Linked DNA regions of Homo sapiens: all the other regions are linked to region 3. The links are contacts of gene promoters, found by promoter capture Hi-C in human tissues and cell types (Jung and others, 2019). All regions are on one chromosome and are shown on one strand. The core of a region is centred on a gene start or on the middle of the fragment in contact, and the rest is flanking DNA. Distances in the headings are between cores, read along the strand shown. Region 1 has its middle 75 kb from the start of LARGE1-AS2. Region 2 has its middle 30 kb from the start of LARGE1-AS2. Region 3 holds the start of SYN3 (synapsin III). Region 4 overlaps LARGE1 (LARGE xylosyl- and glucuronyltransferase 1). Region 5 overlaps SYN3 (synapsin III).

What was found. The method cuts DNA at HindIII sites, captures the fragments that hold promoters and counts their contacts. A contact is called where the count stands out against the background at its distance.
Region 1: a contact is called between a fragment that was not itself captured here and the fragment with the promoter of SYN3 in region 3, in 2 of the 25 tissues and cell types used here (dorsolateral prefrontal cortex and lymphoblastoid cells).
Region 2: a fragment that was not itself captured here is called in contact with the fragment with the promoter of SYN3 in region 3 in 6 of the 25 tissues and cell types used here (H1 embryonic stem cells, dorsolateral prefrontal cortex, heart left ventricle and 3 more).
Region 4: a fragment that was not itself captured here is called in contact with the fragment with the promoter of SYN3 in region 3 in 1 of the 25 tissues and cell types used here (lymphoblastoid cells).
Region 5: a fragment that was not itself captured here is called in contact with the fragment with the promoter of SYN3 in region 3 in 3 of the 25 tissues and cell types used here (IMR-90 fibroblasts, lymphoblastoid cells and thymus).

The regions. Positions count from the first base shown.
Region 1 is chr22:33,238,289-33,240,988 of GRCh38, reverse strand. It overlaps a transcript of LARGE1 not described here. Among named protein-coding and RNA genes, the nearest start is that of LARGE1-AS2, 75 kb to the right of the region's middle. The HindIII fragment of the contact is 4,291 bases long and covers 1-2,700 here.
Region 2 is chr22:33,192,882-33,195,651 of GRCh38, reverse strand. It overlaps a transcript of LARGE1 not described here. Among named protein-coding and RNA genes, the nearest start is that of LARGE1-AS2, 30 kb to the right of the region's middle. The HindIII fragment of the contact is 5,925 bases long and covers 1-2,770 here.
Region 3 is chr22:33,057,091-33,059,790 of GRCh38, reverse strand. SYN3 (synapsin III) reads left to right here and starts at 1,410. Exons shown (of 14, transcript NM_003490.4): 1 at 1,410-1,499. The HindIII fragment of the contact is 13,516 bases long and covers 1-2,700 here.
Region 4 is chr22:33,279,104-33,281,803 of GRCh38, reverse strand. The region is part of intron 13 of LARGE1 (LARGE xylosyl- and glucuronyltransferase 1); the gene reads left to right. Among named protein-coding and RNA genes, the nearest start is that of LARGE1-AS2, 120 kb to the right of the region's middle. The HindIII fragment of the contact is 6,242 bases long and covers 1-2,700 here.
Region 5 is chr22:32,893,212-32,895,911 of GRCh38, reverse strand. All of the region lies in intron 4 of SYN3 (synapsin III), which reads left to right. Among named protein-coding and RNA genes, the nearest start is that of TIMP3, 93 kb to the right of the region's middle. The HindIII fragment of the contact is 4,957 bases long and covers 1-2,700 here.

The DNA of each region.
Region 1 (2,700 bases), core at 45-2,544, 180 kb before region 3:
AGAATGAGACAAGCCCTGAATTTGGAGGTAAGTTGTGGATTGGTGATTAGAGGAGAGGTAACAGGCACCAAAGCAAGAAATAGTATTGATGCAAAGCTGAGGTTAATTGGATGACAAAATGAAGAGCATAAGGGGCTCAGACACAGACTGAGCAGAAAACGAGTAGCATCTGAACCTAGATTGAGTTACTAATGGATGAGAAAGAGTTCTTAAAGTTGATGACCACGGGATCCATATATAAGAATGTCCAATCTCCCCAAATTGATCCACGAGTTCAGTGCAATGCCAATCAAAATCCCACTAACAAGTTTATTTTAAAATGTAAATGAAAATACAAAATTTTTAAAAAGCAAAGCAATATTGAAAACCCAGGAAAAATTAGGAGGACTTACACAACCTGATCTCAAAACTTACCATTATCAAGACAGAGTGTTATTGACACAAGGAGAGACAAATAGATAAACGGAATGTGGTAGTCTGGAGATGCACCCACATGTATGTGGTCAATTGATTTTTGGCCAAGGCACCAAGTCAATTCAAAGGAGCAAGGAAAGTAGTACAGAAACAACCAAATATTGTTTTGGAAAATAATGACAAAGGGCTTATAACCAGAATATAAGCATATAAATATAATTCTTTCAAATCAATAATAAGAAGGCAAATATCTAATAAAAATGAGCAAAGACTTGAAAAGTCACTTAAAAAGGCTTATTAATTAGAAATATGCAAATGTTATTAGTCTTCAGTGGAATTTACATTAAACCACAAGGGATACTATTATATCTTATGCCCACTAGAATAACCAAAGGAAAAAAGACAGACAAAACAAAATGCTGGTGAGGATGTGAAGCAACTGGAACTCTCATACATTATTGGTGGTAATGTAAAATTTATACAACCATTATGAATAAAGGTTTGGCAGTTTCTTACAAAGTTGAATGCACTTCTCCACGATGACTAGGCTTTTCACTCATAGGCGTCTGGCTCCCTAGAACTGAAAACATATGTTCACAAGAAGACTTGCAAATATATATTCTCCCACGTCAGGAGATATTTGCTATGCATTTAACTGACATAAGATTAGTGCTAGAGTTTATAATGAGGTTCTTCAAATCTAAAAGAAAATGCAAAGCATATAATAGTAAGGGGTGCAGGCCAGGCGCAGTGGCTCACTCTGTAATCCCAGCACTTTGGGAGGCCGAGGTGGGCGGATCACAAGGTCAGGAGTTCGAGACCAACCTGGCCAACATAGTGAAACCCTGTCTCTACTAAAAATACAAAAACTAGCCAGGTGCGGTGTCATGCACCTGTAGTCCCAGCTACTCGGGAGGCCGAGGCAGGAGAATCACTTGAACCTGGGAGGTGGAGGTTGCAGTGAGCCGAGATCGCGCCACTGCACTCCAGCCTGGGTGACAGAGTGAGACTCTGTCTCAAAAAAAAAAAAAAAAAAAAAGAAAAGAAAAAAAGAAATAGTAAGGCGTACAAAAGATGTGAAAAGATAATTCACAGAGGAAACATATGGAAGTATTGTCAGCTTAATAACCAGGAAAGTGCAATTAAAACCATTGTGATATACCATTTCACACCCGTTTGGTTTCAAACAACAACAACAAAAATCTGTTGATACTAAATGCTGGCCAGCCTGTGTGTAAGTGGGCACTATCTTCCTGGTAGGACTGTAAATTACACTAATTGCTTTGGAAAGAAGTTGGCAATATGTATTTAAGTAGACTGTGTATATACCCTTTGATGCAGCAATTTCACTAGGTATGTACCCATCCCCTTAAATTCCAGCATGAACAGAGAAACAATAATGTTTAGCATAGTATTCTATTATGGTTTATAAAATATGCAGGTCTGTTGAGGTTTTTTTTTTTTTACATTCCTAATAAGGTTAATTTTTGCCTTCTCTCTCCTTTTTGCGATTAATCTTGCCAAAGTTTTAATTTATTTGTTTTTTGAAGATAACTTTGATTTGATCTTATTTTTTTTCTATTTTATTAATTTTGACTCTTACTTTTATTATTGCTTCCATTCTATTCCTTTTGGATTTAATCTGTTATTTCTCTTTGATCTTCTTAAATGTAACCACTTCCTAAATTATTTTCAGTGTTCCTTATTTCTCAATATATGAATTTAAGGCTATACATTTTCCAGGAACCACTACTTCAGTAATGTCACAAAGGGTTCTGTATGTACTGGTTTCATTGTTATACGATGCTTAATGTTTGCTAATTCCATTGTAATTTTTCCTTCAAACTATGAATGATAAAGATGTGTATTTTCAGTTACCAAGTGAGTGTGGCTTTATATTCTTGTTATTGATTTCTAATTTTATGGCACTGTAAAATATTTATTCTTTGGTACTTGCTGAGATTTTACTTATGGGCTATTCTGTGGTCAATTTTTTCAATAATTTCACATAAGCCAGAAAGCAAATGCATTTTCTTTGGTGGTAAATTTCTCTATTTTGTCCATTAGCTCAAGTTTGCTCATGAGATTGTTTAAATGTTCTAATTCCCACTAATATTTGGTATACTAAATATATCAGTTCCTAGGACAGATATTGTCAAATCACGCCCTATGATTATAGATATATTACTTTTTCTTTGCAATTATGTCAGTTTTTGAGGTTCTCTGGCTAGCCACTTACAGGATCAAGATATATTCCAGACACTCTATTTTATCCTCTATGTCTCT
Region 2 (2,770 bases), core at 151-2,650, 140 kb before region 3:
TTTTGATATATTTGCATTTTCATTTAATTCAAACAGTTTTCTGGTTTCTTTTTTGATTTCTTCTTTGACCCATACATTATTGTAAATCTATAATTTAATGTCAAATATTTGTGGTTTTCTTAGTTACCCTTTTGTTACTTGTGTCTAATTTAATTCTGCTGATGTCGGATAAGTATTCTGGGTAATTTCAATCTTTTAATTTAATAAAACTTATTTTATGACCCCAAATATAGCCAATAATGATAAATATAATATAAAATCTTAAAATTAATATGTATTCTGCAATTATTGGGTCGAGTTTTCTACAGATACCAGTTAGTTCAGAATAGTTCATAATGTTCAGATCGTTTCTCTGCTTACCATTTTACCAGTTGCTGAGTGAGGAATGCCCAAATGTCTTACTCTAATTATGGAGTTGTCAACTTACCCCTTTTGGAGATATATAGTTATTATATTTAAGAGCATCTGTTTGAAAGAAGGGTATTTTTCTATACTAAAAGTAACCAATTTAAATCTTGATTGAGATATGACGGTTCTAATAACTTGATACAGGCACATATACTACACCACTTCCTGATAAATGCTTGAACACAGATTTTAAAAAATAAATAGTTGGTTAATTTATTCCTTTAATGTATTATCCCCTTAGCAAGCTGAAAAACCTTGGGCAACTTTAGGGTGTTGACAGGGTAGTTAAAATATCGGAGCAATGAGTTGTCTAGAGATTTGGGGAATAGCAGATGGTTAAGACTCTGGGCTGAGAGTCAAGAGAAGCACTCTTTCTATCAACCTAGGTGTAATGCTGACTGGTCTGGCAAAAGTCACTCCTTCACTCTGGCTCTCTATTCCCCTTTCTGTAAGATTACGCAGTTGGAATATGGAAGTTTAGGAGTCTTCCAGCACTATCATTCCGTGTCCCTGGCATCTCAAGAATGTGGCCTGCAGGGTGGGGCTTGAGAAGAGGCCAGAGAAGAAGCAACAAACCAAACTTTGTCTACTTCCAAGGCCCAGTTTTGACCCTTAATCTTAGTAGAGACTGCAAGAAGTGGATGGACAGAAGTTCTTAACATTCAATGTCAACTTCTCTTAATATCTATACTAAAAATATTTCATATAACCCAGACATTAGGCTCAGAAGAGACTAAAATCCAAAATTTAATCAATTGAATAAACTCTCCATCTCTAAACCTTGAAAATCAAATTGATGGGATAGGAAAATGACAGCTAAAAAAAACTTGGCAAATGACCTTCTGTCCTTAAGTCTGGATATCTGAGGAATGACTAAGAGTTCATGCCGTGCAAGTCTCAGGTAAGTTTATATGTTAAGGACGATTGCAATAAAATAAGCCATTTATCTTTGTTTAGAACTCTTTTCAAAGCACTTTCTTCTGCAATTAATTTATGCCCATAACAACCCCAGGAAACAATTTCACCATAACTTTGGACAAAGAAACATATTTCATTTAGCTATACCATAGATTTTGAAACAGAAGAAGTCAAATTGGGGCCAATTCTCTTTTAGTCTTTATGTAAATAACTGTGAATTATAAAAAGTAAGTATAAAAATTTATGACATGAATAATGCAGACAGTATAAAATTTATCATATTTTGTTAAATAATATATTGTTTTAATAATGTGACATCTATGTTTTTATATATATGTAAAATTATATATAAAATATAAACATATATAACATATAAAACATAATCTATAACATATTTAATATATATAACATATATAATATATAAAACATATATAATATATAAAACATTATATATAATATATAAAAACAATATATATAAAACATATGAACACATATATATATAAATTACTTTTTATAGTCTCACTCTGTCACCCAGGCTGGAGTGCAATGGCAAGATCTCAGCTCACTGTAACCTCTGCCTTCCGGGTTCAAGCAATTCTCATGCTTCAGCCTCCTGAGTAGCTGGGATTACAGGCATGCACCACCACACCTAGCTGATTTTTATATTTTTAGTAGAGATGGGGTTTCACTATGTTGCCCAGGCTGGTCTTGAACTTCTGGCCTCAAGTGATCTGCCCACCTCATGCCTGACCTCCCAAAGTGCTGGGATTACAGGCATGAGCCACCGTGCCCGGCCGACATCCATATTATGTTAACCAGATGTGTAATGCACTGTATAGCACATTAATGCATTCTGATTATCTTCCTGATTTCTTATATCTATCTCTGCTTCTTTCTTTATCACTCTACTCATATGTGATTTGCTGTGATGTTCCTATTTTATCATTTCTTCCTTTGATTTCTTTACTGTCTCTCTTTTTGCTTTTCTCAATATTCTTTGAATGGTTTCCTGCCCATTCGTTCCTTAAACTCTCTTGCTTTTTCACTGATTATAATATTTTTAAAAAGTAATAAAATGGGTTGTACTTAGTGATTTAGGTTAAAATATCCAGAAATTAACTAAACTATACTTTTTTCATTCCTTTGTCTACCCACACTCTTCTCTCTCAGTCTCTCCCTCTTTATTCTTTTTTCCTCATTGCATCCAGAGTATTACACACACACATACACATACACACACACACATCATAAACAGAATCAGAATAAAGTTATATGTGAAAAATAAAAACAAATAAAATGAAAAGTAGGACAATGGAAAAATTAAAATGCAACTTCAAAATGTTAATTTATTAGTTAATTGATCTTCGACAAAGATACCAAGAACACACATTGAGGAAAGTACAATTTCTTCAATAAATGGTGTTGGGAAAACTGATTATCCACA
Region 3 (2,700 bases), core at 161-2,660:
TCTGGTAAGGGCCTTCATGCTGAGTCACCCCATGGCACAAGGCAGAACAAGAGAGCAGCAGAGGGGTGGGGAGAGGGCCACTCCTGGCATTAATGGAATCACCTCTTAAAGGTCCCACCTCTCAACACTGTTGCATTGGGGATTAAGTTTCCAAGATATGAACTTTGGGGAACATATTTAAACCATAGCATCCCCTAAATCCAGCCTAATCCATCATCAAGCCTTCCTGTGCTACTTTTGACACACATTGCAGGAGGTCCACCTTTTCCGTATCTTGCTGTCACCACCCTGGTCTTCATCACCATAATCTCTTGCCTGAATTGTTCCCTCCAGATTGATATGACAAAGCCCTGACCCTCACGGTGGCCTACAAGGTTCTGGGTGATGGTGATTCCACACTAGTCTACCTCTCTGGCTGTAACCCACTCTCCCCTTGCTCACCTCACTCAGCCACCCTGGGGGCCAGTTCCAGCTTCAGAACCATGCATCGGCCGACCCCTCTGTCAGCAATGCTCTTGCTTCAGCCCTGGAATCGTTTTTGTCCTCCAAGTATCCAATATCACAAGCGGCCCGGAGACCACCCTAGGTATAGCAGTCCTAGACCCCTTTCTTTTTCTTTTCTTTTTTTTGGAGACGGCATCTAGCTCTGTTGCCCAGGCTGGAGTGCAGTGGCTCTAACTCGGCTTACTGTAACTTCCACCTCCCGGGTCCAAGCAATTCTGCCTCAGCCTCCCGAGTAGCTAGGACTACAGGTGAGGGCCACCATGCCCAGCTAATTTTTGTATTTTTAGTAGAGACGGGGTTTTATCATCTTGGCCAGGCTGGTCTTGAACTCCCGACCTCGTGATTCACCTGCCTCGGCCTCCCAAAGTGCTGGGATTACAGGCGTGAGCCACAGGCACCCAGCCGACATTCTCTTGTTTTTTTCGTTTGTTGTATATAACCTACCCCCACCTCCACCCCATGCAAAGTCCACGAGGACGATAGACTTTGTCTTGTTCCCTGTTGCATCCTGGCCCTAGGGCCTAGCCCACAACCTGGGACATTTCCTGACAAGGGGCCCTGGTTTCTCTGAGGTGCCACCTGAGGTCCGGGAGGTCAGCTGACTTTCCCAAAGGTGGATTCCAAGGACACTGCATTCTTCGCACTCCCCGAGGGGCGTCTAGACACTCCTGGGACCCAGAATTATTAGCTAACTGGGCTCCTGAGTCCGGTGAGAGCTCAGAGTCTAGAAGCAACTTTCCCTGCCTGGAGAGGTGAACCCAGCAAGGCGTTGGGGAGAGGCGTGGGCGAGGGAGTGGGCGCGGGTGGGCGGGGCCGTCCGGGGGCCTCGTTGCCCGAGCCAATGGGGCGCCGCGGCGCGGGGAGGCCGGGCCGCCGGGCGGGGGCGCTCGCGCGCGTTGAGGGGCAGAGGCTGAGCTCCCGGGACCCGGAGCGGATCGACTGGCGGGCGCCGCGCCGAGGCACCACCGGGCGCCGAGTTCCTGGCGGCTCGCACGGTAAGCGGCGCGGCGCCGCAAAGTAGACTTTGTGGGGTTTCTGACAGCCGGGAGACCCCACCTCGAGCGGGGGCTGCTGGTGCGTTCTCGCGTCGGGCTGCGTCCCCTGGAGCTCCGGCTCTGTGTCCGCGGGATGCGGGCGCACGGAGGGGCAGGGAGGGAGGCAAGGAGCCGCGCACCACGGTGTCTCCCCAGGCTGCCGCTGCCGGGGCCCTGGGCCGGTCCCTGGGACAGACAGATCGGCGTGCGGGGGCCGTCTGCCGGGCCCGGGAGCCGGGGGCGCGCAAGACTGTGGATCCTAAGACTGCCTCCACCCAGCGCCCGGCCCGGGGAAGAGCTTGCGGGAAACCAGGAACCGCAGCGGCCGGACCTCTGCTCTGCGCCGGCTCCTAGGACCTGCCTTAGGTCCCCAGACCCCTCATGACCTGTTGCCTTGGGTTTGGGAGGTCAGGTTTGTCATGCCATTTCCGATTTCCAGTCATCCTGGGGGCAGGATGAAATTTCAGAGTGGTTTCCTGGCCAAGCTAGAAGCAGAGAATAGCTATGGATACAGCACCTCGTGTATCTATCCAGCACTTACTTGGCTTTTTCTGAGTGCCAGGAACTGTGCCAAGCCCTAGCAGCATGAAGAATGGCCTTTGGGGAGCTTCTGGGGCTAAGAGGGACAGTAGGAGGAGCAATTGCAGTGCAGGGTAGTGCGGAAGACTCGAGATGGAGAAGAGGACGGTGAGGAAGCCAGGAAGGTTTCAGAGAGGAGGTGAGCATTGACTGGAAGTCGGAGGTTTTGCCAGGCTGAAAAGTGTGTTGGGACTGTGAGTTGATAGGGAGCAGGAATTCCAGGTGGGTTTTCTTGTGTAAAGGTAAAGAAACTGAAAAGGTCCGGTGTCCTGACCTAGCACATCAGATAATTCTACAGCAGATAATGGAGTAGGACCGGGTCTTGCTGTAGGTAGGAAATGAGCTCTCGACATGGCAGGAAGCTAAAACCTGCACAGACCTTAAAGTGCAGCCTTAGAATATTTAGAATTTTATCCTGGAATGAAGGAGGGCCGTGGAAGAATTCTGATCAGTGATCAGGTCCCTCTGGCAGCTCTGGGGACAATGGATGGAGGCCGGAGCATCAGAAAGCTGGTAAGTTGTAGTTGTTTTCTGGTCCTTGGCTGCAAATACTCTTCCCTGCTTAAGGGAGCCCCCTCTGCCC
Region 4 (2,700 bases), core at 106-2,605, 220 kb before region 3:
TTATACAGATGAAGAAACTGAGGAGTGGAGAGGTCCCAGTAGAGCCAAGACTCAAACTCCAGGCTTCTTCCTCTATCCAGAATTCTGGAAAGTGGCCTGGAAGAGTTAGTAACCCCCCACCCAACCCAAGCCTTCCTTCTTTTCTGAAAGAAATAACTACCACTTATTGTGTGCTTAGCATGTGCCAGGCACCGTGATTACATATTTAATTCTCACAATAAACCTATGTGACAGATACTATCATCCCCATTGCATGGATAATGAAACTGAGGCTCTGAGAAGTTTAATAACTTGCCCAATGACACACAGCCAGTAAATAGCAGAGCCTGGATTCGTACCAGGTCTGAGGAACCTGTGTTCTCAGTCAGAATGCCATCCAGCTACTGATTGAGTCCTGAATTTTTTTTTTTTTAACCAGTGTTTAAAGATGCAGAGTAAAAACTTGCTCCTCAGAATTGAGACTTTCAAACCAAACCTTAATATAAGTCTCCCATGAATGCCATAGTCTGATGGCTGAGCACCTGACACATTTCCAAGGCATCCTTCCTGCCGTCTTCATACCACAGTGAACCGAGAACTCATTTCACAGCCACATTTGTGGCCACAAGAGCTGGGGTGTGGCCTGCTGTGTCCGTGATTGCTGCTCTGGCCAGCAGCTTGCCAGCCATCATGCCAAGTGCTAAGTTACAGCCCTTGTCTCCGAGAAATTGCTATTGTCACCTGCTCTCCAAATAACAAACTCTTCAGCCTCTGAGCAGCCGAAATCTGCTCCCTACCACACCTGGAATGAGAAAACATCCACACCCCTACAAGTCCTCTAGGGCGGTGGCTCCAGAATGCGGTCCCTGGACCAGTGGCTTCAGCATCACTTAGGAACTTGTTAGAAATGCAGAGGCTCAAGCCTAGCCCAGACCTCCTGCATCAGAAACTCTGGAATTGGAACCAGTCTTCCAGATAATTCTAATGCATACTCAAGTTTGAGAACCACTGCTTAAAGCAAAGTGCCCCAAATCTCTTCTCCCCAGTAGCATCCTGTAAGGTGTACCTAGGAAACCTCTCTCATCTTCCCATCCCTTTTTTAGCAGGGAAGGAGGCTACCTGGCATTTGGCAATAGGTCATTCACAGGCTGGGGCTTGTTTTAACGAGAGGTTCATTGTAACTTGACTGCACCCTGTGCTGCCCAGCCTTTCTGCAAGCTGCCAGTGTCCAGGCTAAACTGATCAAAGCTGCCTCCTCAGCCAGATGACTAGAACTGACCCAGCTGTCCCTACAATGGAGTGCAATGGCGCCGTCTCCCCCATTGTTTTCCCTTCCTTTTCACATTATAATTTTCTGAGAGTTTAGATTCTAAAGGTGGATGACCAATAACATGGCTGTCAATATCACTGAGAGCAAGACCACCAGGAATTGACATCATATCTGGGAAGCAAACAAGGAGAAATAATAAAGAGAATTTTCTCTTTCTCTTTTTTTTTTTTTTTTTTTTTGAGGAGTTACCATATATCAGAAACTACTCTGAGTACTGTATGTGAATTAAGTCACATAATCATCATAAATCTATGAAGTAGATATTGCTGTGTCCGTTTTGCCAAGAGAAGGAAACAAAGGTGCCAAGTAGTTAATGTACCCATACCTGTTGAATGACAGAATTGGAACCCAGGCAGGCAGCCTCCAGAACCATTGCTTTTAACCACTTTGTTATAAAACTAGCATTTATTGAATTCCTCTTAGATGTCAATACTGCGCCAGACTCTTTATATTTTCTCACTTAAGCTCTTTGGCAGTTCAACCAGATAGGTATTCTTTTCCCCAGTTGACACAAAAGGAAATTAACGGCTAATTAAAGCATTTTGTTCTGCAAGGCATTCAGCTCCTAAGTGGCAGAGGTGGGATTTGAACCCTGGCCTGATGGCTCCATTGTGCTTTAAAACCTCATACAAGTTCACGGCCATCAGCTGTGCTGTGCCAGTTCTGTTGAAGGCATCAGGTGTTAAGACTGCCCATTCAGCAAGTTCACAAATGGAAAAGCAACTGCTTCTGGGCCTAATTGTTGGATCATGCCCGAAATTGACATCTCCCGCAATATCCCTTTTCCACACTCCATGAAAATGGCATTGCTTCACCTTTCATTTTTCTTCCATTTAAGTGGCTTTGGTTTTGATGGAAGTTGCTGTGTTGATGGAGCTGAAGTTCAAGTTCCTGCCCTCCCCTAGCCTGGCTGTCTCACCCAACAGCACAACTTGATCAAAGCCCACCCATTGGCCAGTGCCCATTCAGCTGCACTGGCCAGTTCCCTGAGGGTTTGGGGGGAGTCCAGCCTCAGTGGTAGAAAAGCAAAAGAAGGAAGCAGTTGCATTCCCTGCCAGAAAGTGTCCCATTGGCCACACGGAACACTCAGTCTCACTTAGCGCCTCCCTTGCTTTGGAGAGACTGCCCACAGGATGAGATGGAACCCAGACTTCCACTTCCTCTCTCCCTGCAGCTATGCTCTTGGGTTCCCACCCTTCTGTCTTGTTTTCATTTCATGAAGCTTTTCTTTCCAGCTCTGGATACTCTTCCTAACTCTTCTCTTGGGCCCTGTCTAGTCCTTCACTAGATGCCCAGCTTCCTGCCGTCTCTCTGTAGCTTCTAGAGGCATATTGCCATCTCACACATGGACCTGTCTCAGGTGCCTCTCATGTTGTTAGGTTACTCATTCA
Region 5 (2,700 bases), core at 97-2,596, 160 kb after region 3:
TTCTTATACACAGAGAGGTTAAATAACAGGCTGGGTTGGTGAACCTGGGCTTCTAAGCCGAGCAGCCTAGCCCCAGAGTTCCTACTCTTAAGCTCTACTCTGCTGGCTCCCTTTGAACCCCTCACTCAGAGCCGTGCATCTAAGAGACACTTGGAAATGTTTGTCGGTTTCATTTAAGGCCATTGTGTAACCCGAGAAATAAGGCTTAGAGATGGGAGATAATTGCATGCGTCAGGAATGCTTTTAGCTGCAAGTAACAGAAAACCTGACATGTAGAGGCATAGGCAATAAAGACATTTCTTTTTCTCACATAGCAAGAGTCTAGGTGTTTCCAGATTTGGTGCAATGAGAGGTTTGCTGTCAAGGATCAGGTCACTCTTTGCCATTCTTTCCTGTCATTCTTAGATTATTGGCATTTTGTTATCATGCTCAATACTATACTGTCTGTATTAGTCTGAGTTCTTCAGAGAAACAGAACCAATAGTAGATGATAGATAAATAGATAGATAGATGTACATGCAAGTATAGCTACAGATTTACTATAAGGAATTGGCTCACTGGATTATGGAATCTGAGAATTCCAGGATCTGCTGTTGGCAAGCTGGTGACCCAGGAGAGCCAATGGTGTGAGTCCCAGTCTAAGTCCAGAGTCAGGAGGAGACTGATGTCCTAGTTTTCAACACACCTGCTAATAAAAATTATTAATTACTCATTCACTGATTTCCCACACTATCTAACATTTCCATATGATGAAACTTCGGCTCACTCCTTGGTGCCTGCCTAATCCTTCAGATCATTACAGGATTATTCTTAGCCATGCACTACACATCAGACACTTCAACTGCCTTCTCTTCAGTCACTCATATCAGCTGAGATGTAAACTACGGCTGAATGGTCCGCTATTTTCATGCTAACGATGCTTCAATATTTTTCATCTGCCTCTTCTTACATGTTGGTGGAGGTTTATACTATGGATCATTTACATTTCTAGAAACCTGAAATATTGGCATTATCCTCCTACTCACAACTCCTACTTCAACAGGCAGGCAGGGAGAGCGAATTCTCCCTTACTCAGCTTTTTATTCTATGCAGGCCTCCAGCAGATCTGATGAAGCCCACCCACAATGGCTCAGGCAACCTGTGTTACTCAGTCTATAGATCCAAATGCAAATCTCATCCAGAAACACCCTTACAGTCATACCCAGAATAACGTTTAATCAGATGTTTAAACACCTGTAGCCCAGTCAAGTTGACACATAAGATGAACCATCTTGCTGTCCCAACTTGACTGCCACAGGTGGAGGCATCATGTCAATGTCAGGTCAGGATGACGGGGTCGTGCCTGGTGGCTCTTCTCCTCTCAGGCCTCCTCCTTTAAGACACTTTGCCAGAAGTCCTTAGCAGATTTCTGTGTTGGCCTCATTGACCAGAATTGGGTCACGTGTCACTAGCACTAGCTACAAGGGAGCCTGGCAAGATTGAATATCTGGATTTCCACCCTCTGCAATAGAAAGAGACAAAAGAGAGGAAGGTTGTAGTTGTTGGGTTAGCCAACCCACAGCATTTATCAGAGCAGCCTGTGCAAAGTCACAGAATCAGTAGTAGGAACAGAATTAGGACCCTTGACTGTTTTCTTCTTCTATAATATGTAAAAGAGAAGGACATTTTATTCTCTAGGCTACAATTTGGTGACTGAAGCCTTTACTCCACAGTTCTCCAATTTCTGTTTCTTAGCAGTGATTCACCAGGCCCTTGCTCTCAGTTTATTGCGTAGAAGACATAAGTATTACAAGGTGAAGACTTTCAGAGGATAAATGACACACAAGTAGGCCAGTAACAGGGTCCCAGGATCTTGTCTACCCTAGAACAAGACTCGATCCAGTTGGACCAATGCTTATTGAGTGTCCACTGTCTGATTGTCATAGTATAGGCTGTGATAACATTGCAAGAAAGAAGGTACCATCATCTGTGCTCTTGATGAGCTCACAGCTTGGTGGAAAACCAAGTTGTGAAACAAATGTGCACTGTTGAAGGACTGAGGGCCATGAGAGAGGAATGTATGTGATACAGTGAAGCCCAGCAAGGGACAGGCCAGCTCACTGCCATGTTCAAAGAAGGCTTTCTTTGCGAAGAAGGGGATATTGAAGCCAACTGGAAGGATGAGTGGGTATTTTCCAAGCAGACAAAATAGAGGAGGGCATTCTATTCCAAAGGAATAGCATATACAGCATGTGGAGGTGTGGACCAGTTGGGTTTGCTCAGGTCTTACCAGACTCTGGAGTGAAAATGCTCCTTCCCCACACGTGGACAGTCACTCAGCTACAAAGTGCTTATGCAAGTGTTCTCTTATTGGAGTTCCTTAATTCCTAATCTCCACTTACTGCCAAACTCTACTGATTTTTAAGACTCTACTGAAGGGTTGACTCCTGCAGGAGACAATATCCTGGGCCCCTGTTACTGTGTCAACTGACAAAGGCTCCTTTCTCTGTTCCTGTGGTGTCCTCACCATTTTCCTTACCATGTTGGCAATGTCTCTGTCTATGTGAGTCTCTTCCAGGGCTCCATGAGCTCCGTGACAGCAAAGAATGTGTCTCATGCATCTCCACAGCCCAGTGCCTACGGCAGTGCCAGGTATCCAATTAATCCCAATGTATAGTTGAGGAATGGAGTGAATGGATAAGTCCTGGGAGGGGGGCAGAG